Regions from separate parts of the Homo sapiens genome. Here all the other regions are linked to region 7. The links are contacts of gene promoters, found by promoter capture Hi-C in blood cells and fetal thymus (Javierre and others, 2016). All regions are on one chromosome and are shown on one strand. Each heading gives the region's core, a stretch centred on a gene start or on the middle of the fragment in contact. The rest is flanking DNA. Distances are from core to core; before and after follow the strand shown.

Evidence for each region. The method cuts DNA at HindIII sites, captures the fragments that hold promoters and counts their contacts. A CHiCAGO score of 5 or more calls a contact.
Region 1: a fragment that was not itself captured here is called in contact with the fragment with the promoter of PITRM1 in region 7 in 1 of 17 cell types (total CD4 T cells); the score reaches 5.6 in total CD4 T cells.
Region 2: a contact is called between a fragment that was not itself captured here and the fragment with the promoter of PITRM1 in region 7, in 1 of 17 cell types (monocytes). The highest score is 9.1, in monocytes.
Region 3: a fragment that was not itself captured here is called in contact with the fragment with the promoter of PITRM1 in region 7 in 7 of 17 cell types (monocytes, naive CD4 T cells, fetal thymus and 4 more); the score reaches 7.3 in monocytes.
Region 4: a contact is called between a fragment that was not itself captured here and the fragment with the promoter of PITRM1 in region 7, in 8 of 17 cell types (M0 macrophages, monocytes, M2 macrophages and 5 more). The highest score is 11.4, in M0 macrophages.
Region 5: a fragment that was not itself captured here is called in contact with the fragment with the promoter of PITRM1 in region 7 in 1 of 17 cell types (naive B cells); the score reaches 5.5 in naive B cells.
Region 6: a fragment that was not itself captured here is called in contact with the fragment with the promoter of PITRM1 in region 7 in 1 of 17 cell types (M2 macrophages); the score reaches 6.3 in M2 macrophages.

Annotation. Positions count from the first base shown.
Region 1 is chr10:4,835,205-4,838,227 of GRCh38, reverse strand. AKR1E2 (aldo-keto reductase family 1 member E2) reads right to left here. Exons shown (of 10, transcript NM_001040177.3): 4 at 2,419-2,553; 5 at 647-769. Among named protein-coding and RNA genes, the nearest start is that of AKR1E2, 11 kb to the right of the region's middle. The HindIII fragment of the contact is 786 bases long and covers 901-1,686 here.
Region 2 is chr10:4,762,127-4,764,924 of GRCh38, reverse strand. LOC105376375 (a long non-coding RNA gene) reads left to right here. Exons shown (of 3, transcript XR_930599.2): 2 at 411-620. LOC105376374 (a long non-coding RNA gene) reads left to right here and starts at 881. Exons shown (of 3, transcript XR_930598.3): 1 at 881-959; 2 at 2,392-2,597. The HindIII fragment of the contact is 617 bases long and covers 978-1,594 here.
Region 3 is chr10:4,656,226-4,659,024 of GRCh38, reverse strand. It overlaps MANCR (mitotically associated long non coding RNA), which reads left to right. Exons shown (of 4, transcript NR_024475.1): 3 at 1,300-1,424. It overlaps LINC00705 (long intergenic non-protein coding RNA 705), which reads right to left. Exons shown (of 3, transcript NR_015425.1): 1 at 2,705-2,799. Among named protein-coding and RNA genes, the nearest start is that of LINC00705, 1.5 kb to the right of the region's middle. The HindIII fragment of the contact is 1,745 bases long and covers 431-2,175 here.
Region 4 is chr10:4,811,683-4,814,579 of GRCh38, reverse strand. No RefSeq gene overlaps it. Among named protein-coding and RNA genes, the nearest start is that of AKR1E2, 13 kb to the left of the region's middle. The HindIII fragment of the contact is 3,258 bases long and covers 1-2,897 here.
Region 5 is chr10:4,673,436-4,676,266 of GRCh38, reverse strand. The region is part of intron 1 of MANCR (mitotically associated long non coding RNA); the gene reads left to right. The region is part of intron 1 of LOC105376373 (a long non-coding RNA gene); the gene reads right to left. Among named protein-coding and RNA genes, the nearest start is that of MANCR, 3.2 kb to the left of the region's middle. The HindIII fragment of the contact is 1,609 bases long and covers 495-2,103 here.
Region 6 is chr10:4,782,365-4,785,443 of GRCh38, reverse strand. No RefSeq gene overlaps it. Among named protein-coding and RNA genes, the nearest start is that of AKR1E2, 42 kb to the left of the region's middle. The HindIII fragment of the contact is 3,177 bases long and covers 56-3,079 here.
Region 7 is chr10:3,171,295-3,174,140 of GRCh38, reverse strand. PITRM1 (pitrilysin metallopeptidase 1) reads left to right here and starts at 1,359. Exons shown (of 27, transcript NM_014889.4): 1 at 1,359-1,424. The coding sequence starts at 1,369. RefSeq lists an enhancer at 1-346 and silencers at 545-704, 995-1,834. The HindIII fragment of the contact is 12,209 bases long and covers 1-2,846 here.

The DNA of each region.
Region 1 (3,023 bases), core at 44-2,543, 1.7 Mb before region 7:
GGGGTTACAGGGGCACTGGACGTGCTGTTTACTGAGCTGGATGCTAGTCCCAGAGCTATGCTCAGTTTATGAGAATTTATACAGTTCCATTTTCACATGTGCACTTCTACTCTTCAATAAAAAGCTTAAGTACTGTATAAATGATCTTTGAACATACAAAGCTAGTCTAGAAAATACAATAGTTATTTCCCCACAAGTCTTTTCTCTGCATTAAAAAAACGAAGTGCCTGCATCACCTTCAGCAGCCTGTGAGCCTCGCGTGAAGCCATCTAGTCATCCACTCTTTCTTGCTGCAGTCTGCAGGCTGGGAAGAGGTAGAGGGGAGGCCCATGTTCCTGGATAAGGGTGAGGCACCTGCCAGGACCCTGACTGCTTCTGAGTACACCTGGTGACCTGCCTGCACTGCACATGGAGGGCCAAGCACCAGCTCATGCCCTGCCTGCCAACAGTACCATCTACCCAGATGCACCTTCAAGAAAGCCACTTGCCTAGCTGCTGCCTTTAATCACCATTCTGAGTGCTGCCAGAGGAGAACAGGCCTGTTTTGTGCTTCACCCATTCTTCCATTTCCAGAAGAGCCCTGTGGAGGTGGCAGCTGGGGGACCAGCCACACAGGTTAAACTCTCTGATGCTTCCATCGGCTTACCTGGTTGGTTAGTGGCTTGAACCTCAACCCAGGCTTATTCAAAAGCCTCTCAAGCTGTTCATGGTTGAAGTTTGACACCCCGATGTTCTTCACCAGCCCGGTGATCACCAGGTCCTCCATGGCCTATAAGAGAACGACTCTGCTGGGTGTGAAGCTTCTGTCTACTGCACTGACAATCTACGTCCCTCAGCAGTTCTGTATGGTATTCTAAAACTGGTTGGACCCAATATTTTTACAATATTTTACTTGAAGCTTCAAAAGCATTTCTGCACTCAAGGTCTGATTTCAGTCCCATCTTTTCTGGCTAGAGGATGCTGGGCAAGTTGCATGGCCTCACTTGGCCCCAATTTTCTCAGCTTCAGGACAGGTCTACATGGCCTGTGCCACGGGGATGTTTAGGGGTTATGTGGAATCACAGGAAGTGTCAGCTAAGGCTGGCGTCCAGTACTCGACACATGTGAGCTCTTCTTGTTCCTATTCCTCCTGATGTCTGGCAAGCATGTCTGCTGCGGATTTTATTTGTTCACCTTTCTTTCCACTGAGACACTGACCTTCTTAAGCACACGGATACATCACCATTCTCCTATCCCACCTTCTCCACTTACTATTTTAAGACACTTTAGGGCAGAGCAACCTAAAGCTCTGAGCTGGTCACTGACCAGCAAGCCAGGCTGCCCCTGAGCTTCAGGAAGAGCATAGCTTCGTGCCAGGGTCCGTAGTCAGCAGCAAGTCCTGAGTGACCAATGGGCCAACACGCAGCAGTTAGTTACTGCCTCAACTCTGCAACAATCACCGGAACCTCGCTGGTGCTACATGAGCACCCTAGAGTTTAACCCAAATCTTTTAGGACCTAAAACATTGTGACAGAAAGAGTTGAGGCCCATGGGCCCTGGTCCTGACATCTCAGATACCTTAGGTCAGTCTTTGTCTTCTATTGATGGGGGGAGCCTAGCCTGGGACTCCTCCCTGTCCGAGGGTTCCCTCTGGCCTCCTCCCTGGAGAGCTTCACCCAGCAAGCTCTGTCCTAACCTCAGCAAGCTTAAGCTTAAGCTTACTTTCTTCTTGGGCCTCAAATGTGATGTCCCATCCCACATGATGGTTAGCAAGACTGTAAGACCACACGTGCTCGGTCAGCCATGCTGGAGCCCAAGCCTGAGACCCACCCCAGCCTGTGGGTCAACTTCCAGGAACCTCTCAAATCCACCACCCCCTTAATTTCCTGCTCAAGTCTTTACTGCAAGCCCCTGCAGTAAAGGGCTGTTTTTGGTCTGAACCCTGGAAATGGGCTGACACTTGGTAACCTTCCCCGACACTGGTCTCACCTCCCCAGCCTGAGCTTCCATGCTGCCAACTTTATCATTCTGAAATGCTTGAGAGAAAAAGGAACTATAAAACATTAACAGTGGTTACTGCTGGGTGCCAGGAAAATAAAATTTTTAATGTTAGTTTAATGCAGAAGAACTCTCCTGTATTTTCTGAAATAAATATGGTTTTTAATAAAAAAATAAATAAATATTTGAGAAAAAAAGTGAGGTCTATAATGAGCTACCCCTCAAATGTGTCAAGAGAACTGCACCATACCAAACCAAAGGTAACAAGAAAGTCACTGAGGTCTCTGAGTTCTTCGGGTATTGATTCCTTTTTTGCTCCACAAACCCCACATCTCAGGTAGACAACCTTGATGTCTTTGAACACAAGCAGCTCAGGGCTCACTGCATCCTGGGTGGAGACCCACACAGGATGAGGCTGCCTGGTGGTGTGGCTCAGCTCACCTCCCACGTGTCCAGGAAGTCCGTGTCACTGGGAATAACCATGTTGCTCTCGTCCAGAGGCAAGTCCTGCACTCGAGGATGTGAGAGGCAGAAGGAAAGTTCACTGCAGCTCATGATCCATTCTGGATGAGGAGGCTGCGAAGAAGGAGAGTTGAGATGTGTGAAAACAAAACAAAACAAAACAAAAAAAACCATGTGTCAGGAGACCTGCATCCAAGCCACAGCCCTGTCACTAAGCAACCCCAGCCTGGCCATGTGACCAGGCCCAGTCTTCACCTTTCTAAGAAAAGATGAATGGCTGGTGGACTGGATGGCTGGCAAAGCCTCTGCCAGCCTGATGTTCACTGTTCATCTCTCACAAGATGGGAAAGGAAGACCCTGTATCCTTACTGATGCAAGGTTGTCCTCTCCCATTGCCTCCAGAAAATAGTTTACTAATTTCGGGTAAAGAATGGGTGAGGAGTGCATTTTCTTCATGTCTTATAGAGCCCAATCAACCCTCTCCTAACTCCACTGTTAGGGTCTTGTCTTCTTTCTTAGAATCCCCATCATGATGACAGGTAAGGAAGTGAGAATACAAAGGTACACAGGAGGTAGAGGGCAGA
Region 2 (2,798 bases), core at 37-2,536, 1.6 Mb before region 7:
GATCTAGGTTGTCCTTCCATTCTGAGTGTGTTCTCTCAAGATAATGCTTGTGTTAATAAGGACTGCAGGGCTCAGTCAGTCAATGGGTTATGTTCCTTAAACCTTATCCAAAACATCCCGGGTGTTATGTGTTTCAAAATTCAGATTTTTTACATTTCTTTTGGATTTTATAATGGTAATACATTACAAAACAGTATATTATATAATCCCCCCAGCAAGGTATGGGGCAGCTCCATGTAATTAAGCTCATTATGGATTCTGTGGCCACTGGTATGAAATTGAGGGCGGTGACAATCAGGGACTCTAAATAGGTTGTCATTAGCTCAGGTCAGTTACTGTGGCTAAACACATTACGGACAATCTTTTTTTCTTTTTTTTCCTATTTGTTTTTACTGCATTTTGGATTTCAGAATGGTGGATAAAGATTGCGAATTTGCACAGCTATAAAGCTTACTAATTAAAGACTACAAACACAAAGAGAGCAAGCCTTGTGATGACTGCACAATAACGAGGATTCAGATACAACGTGGTCGCCACCTGACGCCCACCTCCACAAAAAGCCATTCTCAAAAGGAGAGAGACATTCATATCCAGAAGAGGGAGTCGGCTGTAGGGTAGAGGTATGAAATTCTCAGTCAGTTTTTACTTTGTTGGTTCCAGTATGATTTTCATTATCCTTACTTTTGTGTTTTTTATGGCAATGTAAACATACAAACTAGTGGGAAACAATGCGGTCTTTTATTAATTTGCAGTAACCCACATTGTAAGCAATGCAATGATTCAGACCTTAGTTATCAAGAGGTTTTATTATAGAACCACTAGTAACTCATAGACTCTTCCTGTTATGTGAAATAAATGAAGACCAGCCAACTAAGAAAGGCAAAGGCTATGTATTCTGAGCTCATCTGGATCAGAGGAGTCAGCACTGTCATTTGTGTTTGGCAGAGACTGAAAGGCAGGTAAGGGGCTGTGAAGCTTTATAGTGGAAAAAAGGGAAGGCTCAGTGTGCCCTGACTAGAGGCTGTTGGCTTGGGGAGCTGGAGGCAGGCTACCTAGAATTGGAGCATCCTATGGGATTGGCTAGGAGAGCATATTTGGTTTTCTCTGTTTGTTACTTAGTTGGGAGTGAGGGCAAAATTTAGAGAAGCTGTCAGTTATTAATCAAGGGGTGGTCATTTTGGGCAGATTGCTCAAAAGTGGAGTTTCTGGATGAGAGTACTGTTTTCTTTTTTTAGAGACAGGGTGTCTCTCTCACCCACCCTGGAGTGCAGTGAATGATCATAGCTCACTGCAGTCTGGAACTCCTGGGCTTAAGTGATCCTACTGCCTCAATGTCCCACAGTTTTGGGATTATAGGGGTGAGCCACTGCATCCGGCCCAGAGTATTATTTTCACATATGGTCTAGTTGTCAGCCTTTTGCGTAGTTGCCCTCTCAGTGTATGGCAGCTCCAGTGGTAGTTACAGAGTTTCTAAAAAGGAGAGACTCACAGGGGTAAATTTATGAATGGAGAATCTCAGGAAATTGTTATGACCCTGCATTTGCATAGAAAACTCCATCGTTTTTCTTGGGTTATTTGTTTACATGAAGAAGCTTCTGAGCAGGACCCACTAGACACAAGAGGTTGCAGGAGCCTGCGCTGCATCCTGCAGTCCACAGCTGCAGAGAATTTTTGTGTTAAATTCATCTCATTCTCATCAAGGAGCTGACATTAGCTTTCTAATTGTGATCAAACAGCAAAAAGACTTTAAGAACAGTCACGAATTTCAAATCTTAAATAAAATGTTCTCTTTTCATGCAAATCTCCCTCCTAATGAAGTATGCTACCAAATAATTTGCTTTGCAGTTCCCAGGGAAGTTATTGAGAAAATGATGAATGGAAAGAAGGGGGAAAGAATAGAAAGATTGGAAAGAGAGATGGGCCAAAGAGCTTCTGAGTAACTTGAACAAAATCAAATACCAGGAAAATTAATGATTAGTCAAACTAATCGATTTATAAGATGAATGGTCCACTCAGAATAAAAATAATGATATTAAATGGCAGAATAACTGCATTTGAGGTTATTGGAAGGAAAGAAAATCTCCACAGTGACTGGAGTTAATGGCCTGCTCCTGCCCTGCTATCAACTTCCTTCATTCAGAATATATATATTTTCTCTCTCTCTCTTCCTCCCATGGAATATTAATATCTATATGACTATTGGATTTGCTCACAAATCATAATAAAGCAAAATTATGATTTGAATATTACTCCCATATTTTGAGTACTCCCCAAAGTGCCTTTTGACTGATTAGAGTGATTTTTCATTTAGTGCATGAAGATACTGAGTTTAAAATGAAGGCTGTATACATAGCCCCTAAATTCATAATATCATTTTGCATTTTTATGAAGATGTTCGTCTGAAGATTTCAAAGCCCACTGCTGATTTAAGGTCATTCACATTCAGCCATGAAGCTGCTCTGAAGACACAGGAACTGCATAGCTCCCTACTGGGAATGTCAAGGGCTGTGAAAGGTCTAAGGTTTTATCCTACTTGCAACCAACAAGCTATGCAGCCACAGTTTTATGGATGCTGTCAAAAGACATGACACTCCTGGGTAAGAGACGAAAGACTTTACCACTTGTGGTGTAGTAGCCAGCTGGAGCATCTTGTGTTTTGAGTTAGTGCCAGTTGTCCCCTAAGTCCCACAGGTAAGGATGCAAGTTTTCCCAGATGGAGGCAGGGAAGCATGCAGGCATGGGGTGGTGATGCAGGAACGGAGCTCTGAACTTAGAGAACCCAGAGCTTTAATAATGGG
Region 3 (2,799 bases), core at 54-2,553, 1.5 Mb before region 7:
AAGCCGTTATTGACAAGTGCTTTCCAGGCCAAAGGCAAGTGCCAGGGAGTATAGTGACAGTGGATTTGCTGCCAAACTGATGATTTTTTCTTGTTTTCTTTTCAGCCCTATTTGTCCTGGGCTCGGAATGTTGATGCAGCTATTTCTATTTGGTTATGGGTAAGGAAACGCTGCATTTATCACTGTGCCTACGTTTTCCTTCAAAGAGGCACGTGTAACTGTGTTCAATTGCAACTGAGAGCGTATTTTAAAAAGGAATTTGGCTTCAATGTCATTAACTGACCTTAAATAAATTGCTTGTGAGATTTTACAATATTAAACTTAGCTCAGAAGAAATGCTGAAATTAGTAAATAATGATTTTTAAGAACTTATATATGTCATCTTTTAAAAAACCTGCTACTTCAAATAACTTCAAAGTGAGGAAAAGCTTTTATCAGCTTTAGAGTTAAAATGCAGATGTTAATCGCAGGTTAGGATCTTGATAATTTCTAAAAAGACAAATGCAGCATTATTTGTAAAAGTACATACAGTCGTGTACAGCATAACAACGTTTTGTTCAACGAAGGACCACATATACCATGGTGATCCCTCAAGATTATAATGGAGCTGGCAAACTCCTGCCAACTCATCAGGCAGTCGCCACTGTAAGACTGTAGCAAAATGCATTAGTCCTGTGTTCGTGGTGATGCTTGTGTACACAGACTTACTGCACTGCCAGTCATATAAAAATACAGCACATACAATAAGGTATAGCACATAATACCTGACAATGATAATAAATGATTAGGTTACTAGTTTAATATGCTATAGTTTTTATTGTTATTTTAGATTGTACTCTTTATGTTAATATATTATTAAAAGGTCAGTTGTGAAACAGCTTCAGGCACTTCCTTCAGGAGCTATCCAGAAAAAGGCATTGTCATCATAGGAGATGCCAGCTTAATGCGTGACGTTGCCCCTGAAGACCTTCCAATGGGGCAAGAAATGTAGGTGGAAGACAGTGATAATGATCCTGACCCCGTGTAGGTGTAGGCTATTGTGTGGTTTGTGTTTTAGTTTTTAACAAAAAAGTTTAAAAATTAAAAAATTAAACAATATAAGAGCGCTTATAGAATACGGATATAAAAAGAGACAATATTTTTGTTCAGCTATACAGTGGATTTGTGTTTTCAGTGGAGTGTAATTACAAGAGTCAGAAAGTTAAAACAAAGTGAAAAGTTTATACTGTAAAAAAAGTTATAGTGGGCTAAGGTTAATTCATTATTGATGAGAGAAATTTTTTTGTACATTTTGTGTAGTCTAAGTGTACAGTGCTTGTAAAGTCTGCAGTAGCATACAGTAATGTCCAAGGCTTTCACATCCACTCACCACTCGCTCACTGACCCAGCCAGAGCAACTTCCAGTCCTGAAAGCTGCATTCATGGTGAGTGTCCTACACAGGTGCATCATTTTTATCTTTTATACCATATTTTTACTGTATCTTTTCTATGTTTAGATATGTAAATACCATTGTGTTACAATTGCCTACAGTATTCAGGACAATAACAGGCTGTACATGTTTGTTGCCTAGCAGCAGTAGGTGTGTAGTAGGCTCTTCTGTCTAGTTTTGTGAAAGTTCACACTATGATGTTTGCATAACAACAAAATCACCTATGGATGCGTTTCTCAGAATGTATCCCCATTGTTAAACGATGCATGGCTCTGTGTGTGTATGTGCAGGACTCTGTGTGTGTGGTATATGCATACCACATACGCACACATCCACACTATACTATGCACTCTACATATATACAACTACATAGGCAAATATAAAGCTGCATGTGCATAAATACACAAACAAACACACATACATATGTATAAAAGGTAATGTATTGATATTAATACTGACAATGTGTACTAAGCATATATTTATATACCCTTAAATGTATATTATTTTAATACATACTATATTATGTTATATACTAATACACTTTTTTAAAACTGAAAGAAATCTCGTTGCCAATTTGTGTTTCTAAATATGATGTCCATATTTTTTCTGATTTTATTACTATAGCTGTGATCACGTCATGTAACTTAATTTTGATGATGTTTCTCACAGTATAGTTTGAGGGTATCCAGCCTCAGATTATCTGAGGATGTAGCTCAAGATTTCCTAATTTTGCAAACAGCAAGCTTCCCAGGAGATTCTTAGATTCCTGCTAACAAAAGGCGGAGACTCACTGGACAGTTACTGAAGATAGACAGTAGGGGGCGGAAGGGCCCACGCTTCTTTGATATTGGTGGCTTTGGTTTTTCAGTGACGGGGGACACTTTGACTTCAGGTATGTTCTGCATTTAGAATTTTCAAATGAACGTTTCTTGTCTGTTCCCTTCTTTTTTCTGCCTCCAAACATAATGTCTATCATTGTAAAAGTAATAAAAAATCACTGAACAAAATTTGGAAAATACCAAATGAATAACAATAGAAATAAAGTAAAAAAAGAACCACTCAAATTCCCATCATCAAGAAATAAACATTCTGATAATATTTAATTTTATTTTCCTATATATATTGTGTGTGTGTATATATGTATGTGTATATATATACATATATTCAAAATGTATTATAACACAAAATGTATAAAATATATAATAGTATAAACAAAATTATATTATATATGTCATTTTCATGTCATATGTCAGATATAGCATATTAATACATACCCAGTTTTCTAAAATGCTGATCTCTTTGAAATATTCAATTATCAATTGTGTTTCTTTCCTCACTGAAGTTCCTTTTTACGACTTTTGGTAGTGAA
Region 4 (2,897 bases), core at 378-2,877, 1.6 Mb before region 7:
CCTTCTTTTAAAAATCCATAGGGTTAATTGTGAAGTAATTTTTAAGCATTTAACTAGAATGTGTTGATAATGTGCAACTTGTAAAATCTTATAAGATACAATTTTTGTTTAAGGCAATGTTTGTTTACCTTTTTTTTTTTTTTTTTTCCTGAGACAGAGTCCTGCTCTGTTGACCAACCTGGAGTGTAGTGATGGGAGCTCTGCTCACTGCAACCTCTGCCTCCCGGTTTAAGCCTTTCTCGTGCCTCAGCCTCCCGAGTAGCTGGGATTACAGGAGCATGCCACCAAGCCTGGCTAATTTTTGTATTTTTAGTAGAGACGGGGTTTCACCATGTTGGTCAGCCTTGTCTCAAACTCCTGACCTCAAGTGATCCACCTGCCTTGGCCTCCCAAAGTGCTGGGATTTCAGGCGTGAGCCACTGTGCCCGGCTGGTTTACCGTATTTTTTAATACACTAATATGTGTTAGCCTCAAAGACCTAGTTTCTTCTATAAAGTTTATAAACCAGGCTTCATGATTTTAGGGGAGATGACTTTTTAGAATATCTAAAAGGAGATGTTTCATTTTTTAAACCAAAATTTAGAAGCAGAAGCTACCTGGCACTAGTGTCCTTTTATCCATCATGAAAGTCTAGTCCCTTTGGTAGGGGACAAATGGATGCTTGTGGCTCAAGAGAAAGTAAACCCTGAGAAAGAGTTACTGAGTTAGAGTATGGTTTCAGATAAAAACGGTGATTAACTTCAGAAGATTTTTTTTATAATTATGGAACTCCAGACTAAACATTCTTAGGGTTTCTGGTCCAAAAGAGCTTCATTAAAAAAATATATATATATATACTTGGACATTCCACTGATCGCCGCTGTTTCAGGTGGGGTCATTTTAAGCTGTTAGTCATCTCTGGACCAGTCGCTGTGATCATTCCAAATGATTTCCCCCTTGAATTTCAATGACATCTATGCTGGGCTCAAGGGCTCATGCCTGTAATGCCAGCACTTTGAGAGGCCAAGGTGGGTTGATCACTTGAGACCAGGAGTTTGAGACCAGCCTGGCCAACGTGGCAAAATCCTGTCTCTACTAAAAATACAAAAAAAAAAAAATTAGCTGGGCACGTTGGCTCATGCCTGTAATCCCAGCTACTCTGGAGACTGAAGCACGAGAATTGCTTGAACCCAGGAGGCAGAGGTTACAATGAACCGAGATGACACCACTGCACTCCAGCCTGGGCAACAGAGTAAGACTGTCAAAAAAAAAAAAAAAAAGAAGAAGTCAATGACATTTGGCTTATGTATGCAACTCATACAGTGCTGACTTTAAACAGCCAGTACAGTAGGAGAAAGGGAACGACCCCCAAGAACTAGAGAAGAATCATCATCGCATAGGAGTTAAGCACATAAGCCCCATGTGTAACGGACCAGGTCAGGTGCTTGCTGAGTCACCAGTGATGCATCTGGAGATGTGTGACTCCCTGCAGCATCAAAGCAACTCCTGGGAAGTCTCACGGAGGCAGAAGAGAGACTCAGTTATAAATGCAAATGCTAAATCTGGCCGGCTGTACTGCCTATGTGAAGACCATATTAAAATAACCAGGCAACTTTTTTGATGTTAATTTAATAATAACAGCTATGCAAAATACTTAAAAACCAACTGTTTCAATTCAAGCAAGTCCCACTTCCACCCTAGGGGTGGGGTATTCTTTTTAACCCGACTTTCATGATGGATAAACCAAGGCACAGAGAAGTTCAGTAACTTTTCCAGGACTCCAGTCTCGTAAGTGACAGGGAGGACGGACTCCTGGGTCCACCCTGGCATAGAAGCATACTGTGTTATCTGTGTAACGGCCCGCCTGCCGGTGCTGCAAGCTCCCGAGGATGGGAAATGTGTGTTACCTTTCCACCGGAGGCCCAGCACCTTCATCACTGCTGCTTTCCTAGCACAGTGTGTTTGTTGGTGTGGAGGAGTGTTTAGAAGGCAGGAATTTGCTCTTTTTTTTTTACATAGCACTGCCCTGGAGACAGGGACCAGATCTTCAAGAGGGAACATTATTTATTCATCATCGATTATGGTTGCAGTGTGAAACAGAAAGAATACAGACACAAAATACACAGTACCTGCTCTCACAGGCCTCACATCTTCTTAAGATGACAGAGTGATATTAATTTTAAGATAAAATTCTTATTTAAAGGCTGGCTTCCATATTAATCCTAAATGAGTGTGGGCTTCATATTGGAGTTTCAAAATACAGGAATCAAAAGCTGATAGAACTGAAAAGGGGAAATAAGTCTGCAATTCTAGCTAGAGATTTCAACACAGTAATGGATAGAATCAGTGCCTAGACAATCTGTGGAAAGACAGAAGAGCTGGACAACTCTACCCTGCCCGGGACATTAGTGACCACACCCAATTGAAGCAAATACACATTCTGCTCACAGGCATTTGGGACATTCACCAAGAGAGAAGAGAACACATTCTGGGCCATAAAATGAATGTGTGTTGGAAAGGATGGAAATTCTGCCACATTCGCACCCCCAGCTGCAAAGCCTCTCTCTGGGTGCAGATGGAGAGAACAAGCCTGCTGTTGGGGTGACAGGCAGCACCTGTGTGCAATTGTACAGGCCTGCACTAAACAATCTCAGAGTGTGCAGGAGAGGAGAAGGTGGTGAGACATGTGGAAGGGGAGCCATCAGCAGGACACAACTCCTTGCAGCAACTGTGGGGCTCAAGAGAGGAGTAACAGCCAGGAATATTCACTGGTTCCTGGCTTGGGTAATGGTGTGGGTTATGATTTAATTCACTAATCATAAAAGTGCAAGGCAAGAGGAAAGATTTGGAATGAGTCTGTGCATCTGTGTCATTGTGTGTGTGTCCATGAGTTTGTGTGTGTTTGTGTGTGTCTCTGT
Region 5 (2,831 bases), core at 50-2,549, 1.5 Mb before region 7:
ACTAGAAAACAAATTATCTGCTTCCAAAACACAATGGTGGAACGTATGAGGTTGTCTCTATTTTGCCTTCATATTCTGAAGAATACATTTGTTGGATGTAGAATTGTGGGTTGGCAGTTTCTTTCCTTGCATTACCTTATAATATTTTTCAACTGTCTTCTCACATCTAAAATTTCTGACAAGAAAAAGATATTTGAAACATTTTTTGCATGTATGTAATATGCCATTTTTGTCTGGCTTGTGAAAACATTCTTTCTTTGGCTTTAAATACTTTGACTATTACATACTTGCTCATTTTAATGATGTTTGCTCACACTTGGAATTTACTGAGCTTCTATAATCTGTAAATTTATCTTTTACCTAATTGAAAAAGTTCAGTTTTTTTTTTTCAATAATTGTGTGTCTGTATGTCCCATTTTCTTTCTCTTCTGCTGTGGAACTGCAGTTACATGGATATTGGAACTTCAGAGATTATTTCACAGGTCCATGAAGCTTTGTTCACTTTGCTTATCAATCTTGGTATTGTTCAGATTTTAAAAAGTTCTGTTGATCTCTCTGACCCCTTTCTTTGTCAATTCTATTATTCTGTGAAGCCCAATTAGTGTGTGCTTACTGCATACATTGTATTTTTCCCTTCTTGCATTTCTTGTTTGTTTTGTTTTGTTTGTTTGTTTTTGTTTGAGACAGCATCTCACTCTGTCACCCAGACTGGATTGCAGTGGTGCAATCTTGGCTCACTGCAGCCTCCACCTCCCAGGTTCAAGCGATTTACCTGCCTCAGCCTCCCAAGTAGCTGGGATTACAGGTGCATGCCATCACACCCAGCTATTTTTGTATTTTTTGTAGAGATGGGGTTTCACAATGTTGGCCAGGCTGGTCTCGAACTGTTGACCTCAGGTGATTAGCCCACCTCAGCCTCCCAAAGTGATGGGATTACAGGTGTGAGCCACTGCACCTGGCTGATTCTTGCATTTCTGTTTGAGACTTTTTCCTAGTTTCTATTTGCTGATGAAACTATTTGTATTTTGATTATTAAGAGCATATTTCTTTTTACACTACTGAGTGTAGTTAAAATAGTTAAAATAATATCCTATGTGCTTATTTCAACATATGTTCATTTGGGTATTGTTTTCCATAGGTTGTCTTTTCTCTTGAGAATGAATGAAATATCCATTCTTTCTTCACCTATTGACTGGATTTGTATTGTTTCTTGAATACTCTGAAGATGTAGAGACTGAATCCTGTTATAATCCTTAATAGAGTATTGATTTTCTAAATTTTAGCGGACAATTATTTTAGACTCATGAACATTGTGTTTTGAACACAGCTCAAAATTCATTCCAAAGTGCTTTGATCCTGCCTTGTGTATGCATGGTTTAAGGTTGGTTAGTTAATTGGCTGAAATTTGTGCATGGGATCTGGGCTCCCCGTCTCTGGCCATCTCCTTTCTGGAATATCTCCCTCACTTTCTGGTGGAAATGATTATTTCAAACTCTGTTCTCCAGTTCTTTAGAACAGAAAAAGTATGGGTTTTCTATCAAGGATTTACTTATTAATGCTGACTGCAATCTGCATTGAGGCTAAAATAATTGAGAACACAGGAAAATTACCCCATGCCATTCTTTCTTCCAAATTGATTCCCTCCTATAATCTTTCAGCCTCTGCTCAATCTGCACTGCCTCCAGGCTACTATTCAAAAAATTTATCCAGGTTTCGAGTGGTTATTTGTGGGGAAATTGGCCTGGCAGGAGCATCTTTGGCCATGCCTGAAGTGGAACACATACAAAATGCTTTTTTGCATTGTCTTTGGCTGAAGCCACTAATATTTCAACTTCCCAAAATATGTCTCTTCTTCATGTATTAACTTGGGATTTTCACAATTCTTTTATAATATTAATTTGGACTACAAATTTGTGCGAAGATCGAAGTAGAATTTAATTTGTTGTAAAAAGCATTTTCTCCCCCAACTGAGTCCCATTCAGATGGCTACTTCACTTGGAGTATTTTTGTCCCTATATGGGGGCATTTTCTCTTATTATTAATAGTAGCTTTTCAATAGTCCCCAGATTTTGCAAGTATCTACTTGAAATTCAAGTATAAGCTTAAGACAGTAACTAGTCTCTTATCTCCTCTTCTCTTATGGGTATTTAAACCTCAACCATTTCACATTCTTCTTTTCATGCTGAGAAAATTATCTTACACCCAGTAAATATGCAGAATCTTTAAAGGACTGAAAAAAATAGGGAAATGTTTAACGTAGTTATCAAGGTAGGTACCTCACACAAGAAACTGCTTGATGATGAACATTTAAGTTTCAAAGCAGGAAAGATAGCCCTTGTGATGAAGGCGATTAGAACGTGATACAAATGACTCTTAGTTTTTCAGTGGACCAGAGCAACAGTTACTGGTTAGTTCAACAGGTGAGACTCAGTCACAAAGAGTTTACGGATCTCGCTGAAAATAATGAAGACAGGTACCATGGCAGAATCACTACCCTATACACAACTGACTCTCTGAGATGAGTGCCTAAACCACATGGCAACCAAATAGGTATTATAATTAGTTTGTGAGAAAGTGGTAATAGTACTTGTTGCAAATCTTGATGTTGTTTTATTAAACAAAACTAAAATATAATTTTATTTAATATTAAAATAATGTTGCAAATATCAATTGATGTAAAATTTATTTGCAGAATCAAAATTCCTATAAGGAAGTATTATAACACTAGGAAGAAAATTATTTTAAGACAGTGACTCATGAAAAAGTGTTATGTGCTATCTGCGAAAATATGCCAATACTCTCTTGGCTGAGAATACGCCAAGAAGATCTTT
Region 6 (3,079 bases), core at 395-2,894, 1.6 Mb before region 7:
CAGAAAGTCAGCATTGCCTGCTGAAGATGAAATTAATCCACCTTTTGTAGAAGCTTGATCACATTACCGTAACTCAATGACAAATATCACAGTATGATTATCTGTACTTGAAATTATAAATGTGTAAATCCTTACAGTATTCTATAATTGAAACATTATTCAAAATAATTTTCCACTTAAGTAATCTAAGTTAGTGTGCTTTTATAGTAGATTCAAGAGTCTATGGAATTTTGACCACGCCCTCATGCCCCTGGGTATTAGAATGTCGGGTGCATTAGTATGTTAGTGTATTGGTATCATTGTTGCTAATCCAGCCAGCCCTTCCTTATTTTGCCGTATCATTGCTGTTCTATTTGCACAGAGTGCTGGTGCTACTTTGCATGTTGAGCGTCGACAAGAAAATGACACAAAGCAACTTGCCAGCCATAACTTTACACTTAGTTCCATACATATTTGGAGTTAGCCGATGGCGTTTCAGCAAGCACATATTTTATAGGATGCCTTTAATCATAAGCCACAGCTTTTAATTTTTGTTCCTCTTGCCATGTTATAGATATGGCTGATGACATCTTCCTCCTTGTGGTAGATAAAGAAAAAGCACAAGAAAAATCATTTCCAGGCTGTGGTCTCACAGTGACTTGTGGAGCAAGCCTATAAATAAGGTACTGTGGATAATAAGCATGCTGTTTTCGTATTTTTTAAATCTTCCTTTTAAAATGCATTTTAGAAGGAATAGACCAAGCATGCATGAAATTTATGTAAGTGCTGTTGGCAGAAACATTACATATTTCCCCCTTTCAAATTGAAATTTTGAAACATTAAAACATGGTATTTATGACATAAAGTGAAATGTCTCACTCTATCCAAACATGTATTTCTCAGGCTTTCTATATTTATATAAAAAATAATGTTTCCCTTAACATTTTGCTAGTTTTCTCTCGTCATTAATTATATAAAGAGATCTAATTTAATATTTGCCAATGTTTTATTCACAAATGTGCTTCGTTGAAGAAGTAAATGGTTTAAATATTTTTATGATTTTATTTGGTCCAAACAGGTTTAGACCACCGTTTACCCAAATAGATTTGCTTTTGAAAACTCCAAATGGCAAAAAAGTTATATTTTTAGTATCAACATTTTGGATGTTTAGGGAAAGTTACTATTATATTGATATTGGTATAAATCGCAAATTTTCCAGCAGTCATTTTTAAAACCAGGATTTATTCAGACAGCAAGTAGTAAATTTATTTGAGATGATTATTTATACAAATAAAATATCTCTATTTGTTAAAACCTTAGGTACTGATTCTTATGAAGATGAGAGTCAATAACTCAGAAATAGCCAAATAATATTTGAAGGGAATTGACCTGCCAGTGGGGCCTCACATAATGTTAATCTTGGTTGTATATTAAAATAATGACAGCAATGATAGCTAACATTTCACGAGTAATTACTAACCACAAGGCACTGTAAGTTATGCCTTATATATATTATCTCATTTAATCCTCATAAGCAACTTATGAGGTAGATAATACTATTACCATTTTGAAAGCAGATAAAACTGAGGCTTTACAGATACTACAGATATTGTCCACTGTCATTCCACCAGGAAGTATCAGAAGGAAGTCTCTAACTCTATAACCTGTGGTCTTAGCCACTGTTCTACACAGTCAATGGTGAACAGAGGGGTGGGGTTACAAGACTATGGTACCTGCATGGATCCTAGAGGCTATAAATACATATATTTGCCTGGACAAAACTAACAACACGACAACCTGTAGTTGTTATTGTAACACTTTTCAATTTCAGATCAGGATGTGAGGTCTGACAGGTATCAGTAGCTAAGGGAACAGGCTGGACAGACTCTCTGATACCCTGGCTATCTTACACATTTTTGGGAATAATGATTGTTGTAACTGTAGGTTAAATGTGCTGAATTACAATGAACCAGTCACAACATTACCTTTTCCAAGTCATTCACGAAAGATGTGATGTTAGGTCAGATTGCACATATTTCTTTGGGGCATTCCTAGAATATTGTCCTTATGAAATTCCAATGCTGTATTTAAGAATACATTAAAGAAAAAGAGAGAGCTACCAATAGACTGATGAAGGAGAACCCATTTTGCTGGTGTTATCTGGACGTTGAGCTAAACAGGATGCAGGCAGTTGTATTCTAAAGTCATAACTATAAAACATATAATTTTTGAAATCTAAGCAAAGGCTATATAAATATAATTACTTTCCCTAAACTACTTATTGTCTTATTTCTAACTGTAGTAAGCAATTACCTCTCCAGCTAATATTTACGGAATCCATTTCAATAAGAAACAAGGAAAAAAGTAGAAGATTAATTTTTTTAGCCATACTTAACCTCTCAGTCACATTTTAACATGTCTTCACTGCTCCAAAATGTGGCACATATGCACTTGGAAATAGAAATTGAAGTTTGACTTGGTGGATATGGTCCATATATTAAAAGATACGGTCAGAAAAGGCATTTCTTGAGCTGTATCATTAACTTACTGTGAAGTATAGGGTGTAGACAAATGACTGCTAACGGAGCAGCCTACCTGTGTAACGGAACTTCAGTTTGGTCTGAAAACAATGGTCAGTGTTTGAATGTTGGGGTTTCACACAGGAGAGATGAATACAGTGGCTTTCCAGGGGCCGTTAATATGTGGAGTGGAGAAGCAGTCTAGGAATGGCCTTCTCACCAGGGAAGAGAGAACAGGAGTGTATAACTGTTCATCAACATCAGAACTGAAAGTTTTTGGTAAGGTATTACTTGCTGGTCATCTTCCAGACCCATTTCCATTACCTATTGGCTTTGTGTGGCTGTTTAGATAATGCCACATGAGATGCTCAGAATTTTGGACTGAGAAACCTGCTGATCAGCCAGATATATCCAGCGATCACTGGATTTTCTAAATAATTTCTGTTGTTCACTCTTCATTTCTCTACCTGGCAATCTCAGCAACTACCAACTCAAAGAGGAAGAAGACGTTCATTCCCATAATACCCTTCTTACTTCTCTAGGAAGCTGGTCTTGAATATCCTCAACTGCACAGAATTAGA
Region 7 (2,846 bases), core at 110-2,609:
TTCGTGATACAAGGGGAAAAAAAGAGGGAGAAGGTGAAGGGAGGAAGGAAGAGAGGCTCTGAGAAACCCGGAAGGTCAGACTTGGTGCGGACTTCCTCCAAGGGCTACCCCACCCTCTCCAAGCGTGGCTAATCCCAGGGCCCCTTCTGGCCCACAGTGCAGAACCACCCACTCCTACGGGGGCCTCCTTCAGCCTCTCTGGGGGTTCCCAGAAGGGCCCTTGGGCACTTGGGCAATGTCAGGGGGCTCAGGTGCATCTTCCTAGACACGAAACGAAGAGGAAAGCGGAGGCAGCAGCGGGGGCCACAGGCTCCCATGCAGCAGCTCGGAGCTGTGCTGTGCTTCGCTGGCGGCCATCCGTGATACGTGTGACACCGTGGGGCCCTGGCCCTGGGACCTGCCATGCAGCCTTGAGATCTCATCCAAGAAGCCCCCAGACCCCAAGGTTCAGGCCTGGCGGGGCAGCAGAACGCCTTTGGAGCTCAGCTCAGCCCTACAAACAGGACCAACGCCCACACCAAGGCCAGAGAGGGCTACCAAGTTTCACCTGGCCCAGCTTCCGGCAGCCCCCAACCAGGCCACTACCCTCACCTGAACACCGCGGTCCATCACCAAGCCCCACCCACTTCTGCCAGCCCTGCCCCCACAAGGACCCACCTCTCGCATGCAAGCCCCGCCCCCAAGGCCCAGCTCACCTGCAGCCCCGCCCCACCAGGCTCCACCCCATCGCCTGCAAGCCCCATCCCCAAGGCCCAGCTCACTTGCATCCCCGCCCACTAGGCTCCACCCTGTCACCTGCAAGCCCCGCCCCCAAGGCTCAGCTCACTTGCAATCCCCTCTCCCACTGGTCTCCACTCCTCACCTGCAAAGAGCCACCCCTCGCTAAGCCCCTCCCATCACTTGCACAGCCCCACCCAACACAGCACGCCATTCCAGGAGCCCCTCTTTTCACCAGCGCAGCCCCGCCCTTCACCAGGCCCCACTTCATCTGCATACACACGCCTCTCGCCACGCCCCACTTCTCGCCTGCCCACTTCCCCCTCCTATCATCTGTCCACATCCTGCTGCTGGCCGAACCCCGCCCCTTTCGGCAAGACGGCCCCGCCCCTTTCTACCCGTACCACGCCCCTCGCCTTGCCCGCCTCCTTCGGCACGTCGGCCCCGCCCCTCCCGCCCATCTCCGTCCGCACCGCCCTCCCGCCCGTCCCAGAGCAGTGGAGGCCTACCCTTTTCACCTACAGCCTATCGCAGAGGACGTCGCTGTTCGCGTTGACCAATAGGAGTGGTAGCTGTCACGGCAAGCCCCGCCCCGCGCCCTGCGTCGGGTTAAGAGGGGGTTCCTCGCCAGCCAGGTGCTCGTCATGCGCAATGTGGCGCTGCGGCGGGCGGCAGGGCCTGTGTGTGCTGAGGCGGCTGAGCGGCGGGTGAGACGCTGCGACGGGAGGCGCTCGGCGCGCTGGTACCCGGGAGGGGAGGGTCCAGGGCAGGCCGGAGGCGTAGGGGTCCTCGTCCCTGCGCCCGGGGCTGGCAGCTCCCCAAGCTGTGGGCGTCCCGCACCCCGAGCCCTTCCTGGAGCTCCCGCATCCGAGGCTCCGAGGCCGGAGGACCTCGGAGCTCCTTCCTACTCCCAGGGGCGATGCCCCGGGCTGGGGGCCGGGCCTGCCCGCGGCGCTCCCGGCGGGGCCCTCCATTAGCGTGGGCTTTAACGGGGGTAGTAAATGGGGTCGGCATTTGCGGTTCTCGCTGACAGCTTTGCTCCTAGTTCATTTTTGTTGGGAGGCCGAGTCCTTAAGAGACCCGAGGCGCCCACAGCCCATACTTAAAGTCTCGCTGTGTTCAGAGAACTGACGCCTCCCGGAATTGAACTGTTTTGTTTTTTTAATGACTCAATTTATGGGGAAAAAAATGACGAAGCAGTTTAGTGTTCATGGTAATCCACGAGCCCGTGTTTAATATAAGGTAATAGTTCAGCGCTGCCGGCCCAGGCCGGGAGGCACGGGGCGTCCGTGGCATGAGTTCGGCCTGGCCTTACCGCTCAGGAGTTTCCTATCATGTCCTTGATAAGTAACTTCTTAAAACGCTTCTGTCCCATAATTCTGAAATTTGCTAAATCAGTAAGCAAATGTTGGTTATAGCATATCTTCATAATATTGCCAGTGACTGAATAGGTTTTTTCTTCCTGTACATATTATCTTTAAAATAAATATTTCGGTGGGATACATTAATGTAGAAAATCCCATACGACATATAATACAATTGGAGAGAATAATAATTACGTGTTTTTTAAGAGCAGGGATCTTGCTCTGTTTCCCAGGCTGGTTTGATCCCCCTCCTCAGCCTCTCGCATTGCGGGGTTACAGGTGTGAGCCATCTCATTCAGGTGAGAATAATTATTAGAAATAGGTTGGGCGCGGTGGCTCACACCTGTAATCCCAGCATGTTGGGAGGCCAAGGCGGGCAGACCACTTGAGGTCAGGAGTTCAAGACCAGCCTGGCCGACATGGTGAAACTGTCTCTACTAAAAATACAAAAATTAGCTGGGCGTAGTAGTGAGCACTTGTAGTCCCAGCCACTCAGGAGGCTGAGACAGAATTGCTTGAACCCGGGAGGTGGAGGTTGCAGTGAGTCGAGATTGCACCGCTGCACTCCAGCCTGGGCAACAGAGTGAGATCTGTCTCAAAAAAGAAAATTAGTGTCCCTGTGACCAAGTTGAAGATTCCCCTAACTGCTCGTAACTCTCTCCCTCCCTCTTAGATTATCACGGTCATAACATACAGAAATGTCCTTGCTTTTTTTTTTTTTAATATTTTACCATTTTTATGCGTTCTGACAATGTCTTGTTACCT